Regions from separate parts of the Homo sapiens genome. Here all the other regions are linked to region 2. Evidence: promoter capture Hi-C in 16 types of primary human blood cells and fetal thymus (Javierre and others, 2016). All regions are on one chromosome and are shown on one strand. The core of a region is centred on a gene start or on the middle of the fragment in contact, and the rest is flanking DNA. Distances in the headings are between cores, read along the strand shown.

Region 1 (2,700 bases), core at 30-2,529, 180 kb before region 2:
TGCAGGCTGTACAAGAAGCATGGCTCCAGAACTTGGTTGGTTTCCAGTGAGAGCCTCCAGAACTTGCTTGGTTTCCAGTGACAGCCTCAGGAAGCTTTTACTTATAGCAGAAGGCAAGGGGAGCAGGTGTGTCACATGGCAAGAGAGGAAGCAAGAGAGAAGGGAGGGGGTGCCAGGCTTGTTTTTAACAATCAGTGAACTAATAGAGTAAGAACTCCCTCATTACTGTGAGAAAGTCACTAAGCTATTCATGAGTGTCTGCCCCATGACTCAAACACCTCCCGCAAAGGGCGCACCTCCAACACTGGGGATCAAATTTCAACATGAGATTTGGAAGGGACAAACATCCAAACTATATCAGCACATGTGGCCAGTCATGAGTTTTTGTTTTGGCATGTTGCCTCTCATCTGCCAGAATCCCTAGAATCTCATCTGCCAGAATCCCCAGGTAATCATCCTGTCCAAAAGCCTATTGGGTCCTTGCCACATTTCAGTCAATGTGTCTGGTCAAGGGATAAGGTCAAGGTTGGCAGGGAGTCATGTGCTGCCGATCCCTAGTCTGGTTCTTTGTTTAAAACTCCCACCAGCTCCTTTGGTTTCCCTTACCTCAACCACCACCATGTACCCAAATCTATGTGCCAAATAGGTTTTAAAGCCCCCTGATCATAAACCTTAAAAAGTAAGCCTTTCTATGCACATGTTGAACTGCTTCATGTTGAACTGCCCTCCCCACTTCATTTATCCCATCTGATTGCAGTCTGCTTCCCCCTCCTTGCTACTAGCCTGACCGGGTCATTCATCAGTTCTTGTGCTTCTTTCTCTTTAGAGATGTGGTGCTTCTTCTACTCTTCCAGGTTCAACTCTGACTCCCCTCCAACTGTCCTGGGTGAAACCCCCTCCCTTGCTGACTCATCCCCAAGGCCCTCCCACTCCAGGCCACCCTCACAGATGCTTATCTGCCTGGGCTGGTTCTTAAAATCCATAATCAACGGCCAGATAATTTAATCCTACAAAGTGATTGGCAAATGTGACAGTCCAGGTCCTCCCAGGGACAGGTAACAAGACAGGGTTAAACATGTAAGGACTGTATTGGAGAAATGCCTGTGTAAGAGAGAAAATGATGGGAGCTGGGAAGGTTAGGAGGTCATCAGAACATGATAAGAATCTGACTCAAGCGAAGGAGAGAGGGAGAGGAGGTTGGGGGTAGGGGAAACATCACAGACTGCCTGTCATGCAGTCAAAAGAGGGTTCAGCAAAGCCATCGCGGAGTCCTTGAGAAAAAGCTGCTCACCCAGAGGGATCCCTTAGTCTACTTAGTGTCTGCACCAGGCTCTTCCTTGCCAGGAGCTACCCATGGGAGACACAGCCTTGGTACAAACACCACAGTGGATTTCAAAGCCCAGCAGCTGACTCTGCTGTCTGTGGTGGGGGGTCTGGAGGCAATGCTCATGGCCACCATGGTAGGCCACTTCATGCCAGATGGAAAGGTTGTCATGGGGGAGTCTATTCATTTATTCAGCAAATCATGTATGGAGCATCTCTATGCCAGGTGCTGTGCTAAGATTAAAAATCAAGGCCAGTTTTCTATGCCAGGCTACAAAATAGATTTTTCTGGGGTAGCTGCTCACTGATACTCTCATCAACCTCCTGAAAAAAATGTGCATTACTCCAAGGCCACTAGGATTTGCCCTCTCTTTCTTTAACCTCTGTGAAAGACAATCCTGCTTAGGAGTACAGAACATGGGCTATTTGATAGAGTGATACAGCAAGGTGGCTTGCATTGGGATGCAGTGGTTTCAGAGCAATTCCATGTCACTCAGAGGATCCCTGGGAAGTGACTCAGGAACATCCTTTGGAATCAAGAGGAAGCCAGTTGGGTTGGACTCCAGATCTACCAACATCACATTAACCAGAATAATTGTCCATTTAATATTTCATATCCTACAATTACAAATAGAAACTATTTTTTTAAAAGAGCATAACACTTTTAGAATTTTAAAGTCCAATTTGCAATGGAGTCAGATGACTCCTTTCTATTTTCCTAGAACTTAGCACAGTGCCTTACATACATTGGCAGTTAGTAATGTTAATACATAAACAAATTAGTGAATGAATGAAGTTAACCCAGTGAATCTGTTCCCAGAATGGCTCTTTTAGACAGTTACTATGTTTCCATTTTGCTGATCACAACTTGATATTCTCAGAGTTTCTATTAACTGGTCATGACAAGAGATTACCCAGAGTGGATACTGAGCTTCAGATCCAGGACATCTGAGTCCAAACTTAGAGCCCTTTGTACTGCACTCCTCTGTAGAGACTGTGTGTTCTAGAGCCTTCTTCAAAATCCCCCACTATATCCATGCAGTGTCTAACTGCAGGCAATATAAGGTTCTAGCATTTCTATCTTTTCATCATTTCTCCCCATTGGCCATTAGCAACAGCTACTCTCCATTCCCAGATACCAGCAAGCTTAAAAATAATCTCCCCTCTGCCTATTTCCACATTCTTCAGAAGGTTTTTAAATGCTTAGAGGATATGTGCTCTCAGGTATAGGCCTGGAGCAAGGAAACTTCAACTCCCCCTTTGGTTCTCTTTTTATGAAGTTTTCTCTGTACTTAGGAACATGCACCATGCCATAACAGAATTAAAACCTTAGATCTCTGTTTATAAAGATACAAGAGATAACCTAGTGAACAAGAT
Region 2 (2,700 bases), core at 30-2,529:
GCCCACTTAAGAAGTTATCACTTATAAACAAATAAATGAACATATTAAAAGGCTGTATCACCTGAAATTAAGCTTGTAAATGGGTGACATCAGACACCATCATTTGGTTCGAGAATATTAAGAACTATGAGAAACCCTGGAAATAATCAAGGACAACCATCTTATTTTGAAAGTGAGAAAACAGACACAGAGACTTTATCTGATTAAAATCTGACTCTAATTTAGCAATAAGTTATGACTAGCTTCTATGCTCAAGACATTGTTTTGACCATCCTATGATGGCATTAAGATTTTGGAAAGCCAACAAATTCAAAGGACCATTTCCTCCAGTGTGGAGAGTGGATCCCAAAGGCAAAATTAAGCTGGTCAGAACGGGGAGCCCAGCAATCTCGTTGGTCAAGTGTGTGGTCAACATCCACTTCACTAACTCTGGAAACATTCCTTTCAATTAGAGTTCTCATTGCTTGAGAAGAATGAGAGGAAAAGAAAGATAAAAACAAGATTTTTTTCAGTCGTCTAATTTCCATAAATGACATCATAAATTATATATTGCTGTTGCCAAGGAAATATAAGAAATACATAGCAGAAGGAAACAAAGAAATTGATTGCACCATAGACGACTAGTCATATGCTTTGGAGAATCATTCTGCCTTTTGAGATGTTATGATCAGTTCTTTACAGGCACAAAGACATATTAGTTTTCTAAAAATACCCAATCATTTATCCATTCAGCAAAGAACAAAGAAAACAAAATCAGTGCAATTCTCATAACCCTCTTTCTTTGCACAGCACATAGAATGAGGGGCTATTTTCCTGCCATATTTACCAAGAATAGGGACAGTGTTCATTATTCCACAAGACACCATCCTAGGTCCAGAATCTAAAGGCTCTACCTCCAAAACTCTCAAATATAAAATGGCTTTTTTCTCTAAGTTAACAACTAATTTCCAGTCAGTGAGTAATTTTTTTCCTGAAACATTCACTCAGTGGAAAACAAATGAAGAGGGAAAAAATTAAGTAAACAAATCTGAAAAAGAGGCCACAACACACAGAGATGGAGAAGCTCTAAACTTACCACTGAAGGAAAGCAGGCACTTAAAGTTTATCCCAAACAAAACTGTAATTTTAACTGGTCCCCGAGTTGAGCCTCACTCGATGAATGACTTCCAGGGCCTTTGGCTCTTTGGGACTAAACGAGAAAATTATTTTTAGCACAACTATTTGGAAATCTTTGAGAATTTGGATCTGTTATTCTGTCTGGTACCAAAGCAAGTTTTTCACTGAGCTCTCATGAAAGATCCTCAGTCTCTTGTGGATTTAGAATCCTGCAGCAGCCCACCATCTAAGAGCAAGGTATGGTGTTTACTCTTTTTTTTAGAATTTTGGCAAATGTAGATGCAATGGCCTGTTCTCGTGACGGGAGCTTTTTAGCTTATTAAACAGATGGCTCTGTAGGAAGAATCCATAAAACTGAAGACCTAGCTTCAAGTCTCTGGACTGACACTAGCTTTCTAACCATAGACAAGTTGCGGGACTTCTCAGGACCTTGGTTCCCCATCTAACCTACCACAAGATGGTTTTGGGGAGGACGATATGGGCTTAGCATTGCTCTCTAGGATATAAAATGTTTTGCAAATGTCAGGGTTTTTTTTAATCACTGTGCCATAAAGTAGTCAAAACTTTATCAATAATGAACTGTTGACAATAATAAATATTGATGAATTTTTTTTTCTTCATTGAGCCTCTACTGTAGACTAGTCTCTGTCCTAGAGTTTGCATTTTAGTGGGGAAACAAGCAAGTCAATAGATAGCCATAACACAGTGCAATTGTGTGGCCTTGCAGGGACTTGAGTAGTGCCAGGAGGAGAAGGAGGTTAATTCATGGCAAACAGGAAAAGCAGTTCTGCAGAGGAAAATTGGAGCCCCCAAAAGCAAAGAACTGGTGAACAACAACATAAAAGGAACTGAGGCATGAGCAGCTCAGGTCTCCATCCTGTCCCAATCACAGTGCCACTCCCAGTGCAACAAGAGAAACACAGAGCTTGCTGTTGTGAAATCTCCACCTCTGCAGGCCAAGAAAATGTCCCGTTTTGGCTTTTCCTGGTTACCTATTCTCTTCTTAATGATTTCCAGGCAAAGCACATTTTCAACTTGAATTAATTATCAAGTCCAGCCCTTTGTCATGAAGTAATATGTTATAGTTTCCCTCACATGATGTAGGGACAAACTCAAGTGTTTGAAGACAAAAGAACTCAGTACAAATTCTGGCTGCACCATTTCATGCCTGTGTGGACTTGAGCCCACAGAGTATCAATGTTCTTACTTATAAAGTGAAGGTAATAGCACTTACTTCATAACAAGTGGTGTGAGGATAAAGTAAAAGATGTCCTTAAAACACCTGGCACAGAAATAAGAATACTGGGCTCTCCCTGCATTCCAATTCATTTTTATTCAGTTTTTTTAATTATGGTAAAATATACATATCATAAAATTTACCATTTCAACCATTCTTATGTGTACGGTTCTGCAGCATTAAATACATTCATTTTGTTATGCAGTATCATCACCATCTCTCCAGGACTTCTTCGTCTTCCCAAACTGAAACTCTCTATACCCATGAAACCATAAATTCCCATTCCCCTCTTCCCTTCCTCCTCCAACAGTGAGTATTCTACTTTCAGTCTTGATGAATGTGACTAC
Region 3 (2,700 bases), core at 20-2,519, 200 kb before region 2:
TATTTTTGGTGGAAATCAGTGAAGGAAGAGGTTCAATTTGAAACAGAACAAGGATACACTTTGCTGAGCATTGTGACAAAACTGTCACAACCAATTACCCAATGAATATATGGGCAGCGGGAGATTTAGAGATGATTGGAAAAGGCTTAAACTATCCCATCCTGCCCCACCCTTCAAATCCCTTCAGAGATGGGAAAAGATAAATAACCCTTGCAGTATACAGAATTAGATTTAAGTCTTTTCACTTGAATTTCAAAAGACAACCCACTTCAGCTGATGTATGGGTTCAAAACAAGAGCTCAGCCAAAAGAAAGTAAATTAAATTTTCTTTAAACATGATGTTTGAAGGTTCTCCAAAAGCTTGCAGTTTTTCTCTATTTTCTGAGCTCAGCTGGTGGGAGACACAGGATGGCCTCTATCCAGGATACTCCAAAAGTCTCAATGATTGGATATGACCCCTTGTGTCAGTCAGGTTTCTCTAGACGGACAGAACTAATAGGATATTTGTATATATGAAAGGGAGTTTATGAAGGAGAATTGACTCACCTGATCACAAGGTGAAGTCCCACAATAGGCCGTCTGCAAGCTGGGGAGCGAGGAAGCCAGTGGTGGATCAGTCCAAGTGCCAACACCTCAAAAGTGGACAAGCTGACAGTGCAGCCTTCAGTCTGTGGCCGAAGGCCCAAGAGCCCCTGGCAAACCCCTGGTGTAAGTCCAAGAGTCCAAAAGCCAAAGAACTTGGAGTCTGATGTTGGAGTGCAGGAAGCATCCAGCACGGGAGAAAGATGGAGGCCTGAAGACTCAGCAAATCGGCTTCTTCCACCTTCTTCTGCCTGCTTTTCCTAGCTACGTGGGCAGCCGATGGGATGGTGTCCACCCACATTGTTCGTGGGTGTTCATCTCCCAGTCTACGGATTTAAATGTTAATCTCTTCTGGCCATACCCAGAAACACCCAGATACATCCAGAAACAATACTTTGCATCCTTCAATCCAATCAAGTTGACACTTAATATTAACCATCGCAATCTTATAATCAGAACAATATCACAGGGATGAAAGGAAGAAAGTGAAGTCCTATTTTCTTGGAAAAACTTAGGGTCAAAGCCAGCGAAGCTGGGATCAAAAAAGAGATACAACCCTCAGGCAAGAAACGAAGCAGGAGCTGGAACTGAACAAGAAGCACCTGGGTAATCAGAGCACCTGGAGAGGAAGAGGCTTGGGCTTACATTTGCTGATGTCTGGGAGGTTCCAGCTGACCTGAAGTTCAGGTTAAAGGAAATAGCTGCAATCTATGATGAAATCCCCATCACCCACTAATAAACATCAAGTGTTCCTATGCGGGCCCTCCAATATCAAGTAACAATGTGTGCTAAATACATCAGCCCCCGTACTTCCTTGCTGTTTTGTAGAAAGATTGGTGTACTTTCCTCCTACCAAAGTCATCTTACAGATAAATTAATTCTGCTGTTTTTAAACTGCCTTTATCTCCATGGTCTTGGCATTTACGTGCCACATTTTTTTCGGTTGTATGTTAATGTGATATTTGTCCATTAAAATTCTGAAAGTCTTTAAAATGAGAGGAAGAAAAAACTTCCCGGATGTTCAGCCTAATATACCTTTCTGGGTGATCTCTGCCTTTCATTGTCTTTTAATTTTTTTTTTTTCTTTTGAGCCAGAGTCTTGCTCTGTCACCCAGGCTGCAGTGCAGTGGCACCATCTCAGCTCACTGCAACCTCCTCCTCCCAGGTTCAAGCGATTCTCCTGCCTCCGCCTCCCAAGTGGCTGGGATTACAGGCGTGTGCCACCATGCTCAGCTAATTTTTGTATGTTTAGCGGAGACAGGGTTTCACGATGTTGGCCAGGCTGGTCACGAACTCCTGACCTCAAGTGATCTGCCCGCCTTGGCCTCCCAAAGTGCTGGGATTGAGCCACCATGTGAGCCACCACGCCCAGCCTCATTGTCTTTGAATCCTTCTACTACTCTGTAAATTGTAGAAAGCTGAGTCATGCAAATATTTGTGACCAGATCAATGCAAATGAATTGTGTCCCATAGAATGCAATTGCTCTGTGGATACTTATCAGTTTGTATCTATTAAGAAAATTTATTTCTGCATTCCTGGTTGCCTCAGAGTAGACACTCAAAAATGTTTGTTGACTGAATAAATGATATATGAATGAAGCTTAAAATAGAAACCATAAGAACCCTCCAATTAAAGTGTACCATTCTTATAGGTAAGGTGGGATTCATAGCACACCGCTCATCTTTCAGCTGCCAAGGAGCCTTGTCCACAATGCCTCTAGGCCCTTCAGCCTCTACAGGTTCAGCTACTCACTACTTAATGCTCACTCAAATATAGTCTCAAATGAGGGCACTCCCACTTGCTGTCTTTTTTTCCCCCTCCAGTCCTTGAGATACCATGCATGGGTGGGATCTTTGATCTTCTGCTGAATAAAGGCAGCAGACTACCTAGAAAGGAAACTGCAGAGTTACAATAGGTACACCTCACCATGGAACACTATACATCAATTACAGAGAGAAAAAGAAGACAGAGGGAGAGAGAGAGAGAGAGAGAGAGAAGTGGCAGAAAGATGTGGAACTTATCCAGGATGCCGAACGTTAAAAAAACTCAAATTGCAGAAGAACATGTTAGTATGATCCCATTCTTGTTAAAGCACTCGCATATAAGTTGGTGTATTC

Evidence for each region. Contacts are between HindIII fragments. The CHiCAGO score rates a contact against its expected background, and 5 or more counts as called.
Region 1: a contact is called between a fragment that was not itself captured here and the fragment with the promoter of C1QTNF7 in region 2, in 4 of 17 cell types (monocytes, M1 macrophages, M0 macrophages and 1 more). The highest score is 7.9, in monocytes.
Region 3: a contact is called between a fragment that was not itself captured here and the fragment with the promoter of C1QTNF7 in region 2, in 2 of 17 cell types (M1 macrophages and M2 macrophages). The highest score is 5.5, in M1 macrophages.

The regions. Positions count from the first base shown.
Region 1 is chr4:15,244,288-15,246,987 of GRCh38, forward strand. The region is part of intron 2 of C1QTNF7-AS1 (C1QTNF7 antisense RNA 1); the gene reads right to left. Among named protein-coding and RNA genes, the nearest start is that of C1QTNF7-AS1, 180 kb to the right of the region's middle. The HindIII fragment of the contact is 2,375 bases long and covers 93-2,467 here.
Region 2 is chr4:15,426,754-15,429,453 of GRCh38, forward strand. It overlaps C1QTNF7 (C1q and TNF related 7), which reads left to right and starts at 1,280. Exons shown (of 3, transcript NM_031911.5): 1 at 1,280-1,353. It overlaps C1QTNF7-AS1 (C1QTNF7 antisense RNA 1), which reads right to left and starts at 1,161. Exons shown (of 6, transcript NR_125911.1): 1 at 1,076-1,161. The HindIII fragment of the contact is 5,402 bases long and covers 71-2,700 here.
Region 3 is chr4:15,227,302-15,230,001 of GRCh38, forward strand. The region is part of intron 2 of C1QTNF7-AS1 (C1QTNF7 antisense RNA 1); the gene reads right to left. Among named protein-coding and RNA genes, the nearest start is that of C1QTNF7-AS1, 200 kb to the right of the region's middle. The HindIII fragment of the contact is 1,822 bases long and covers 359-2,180 here.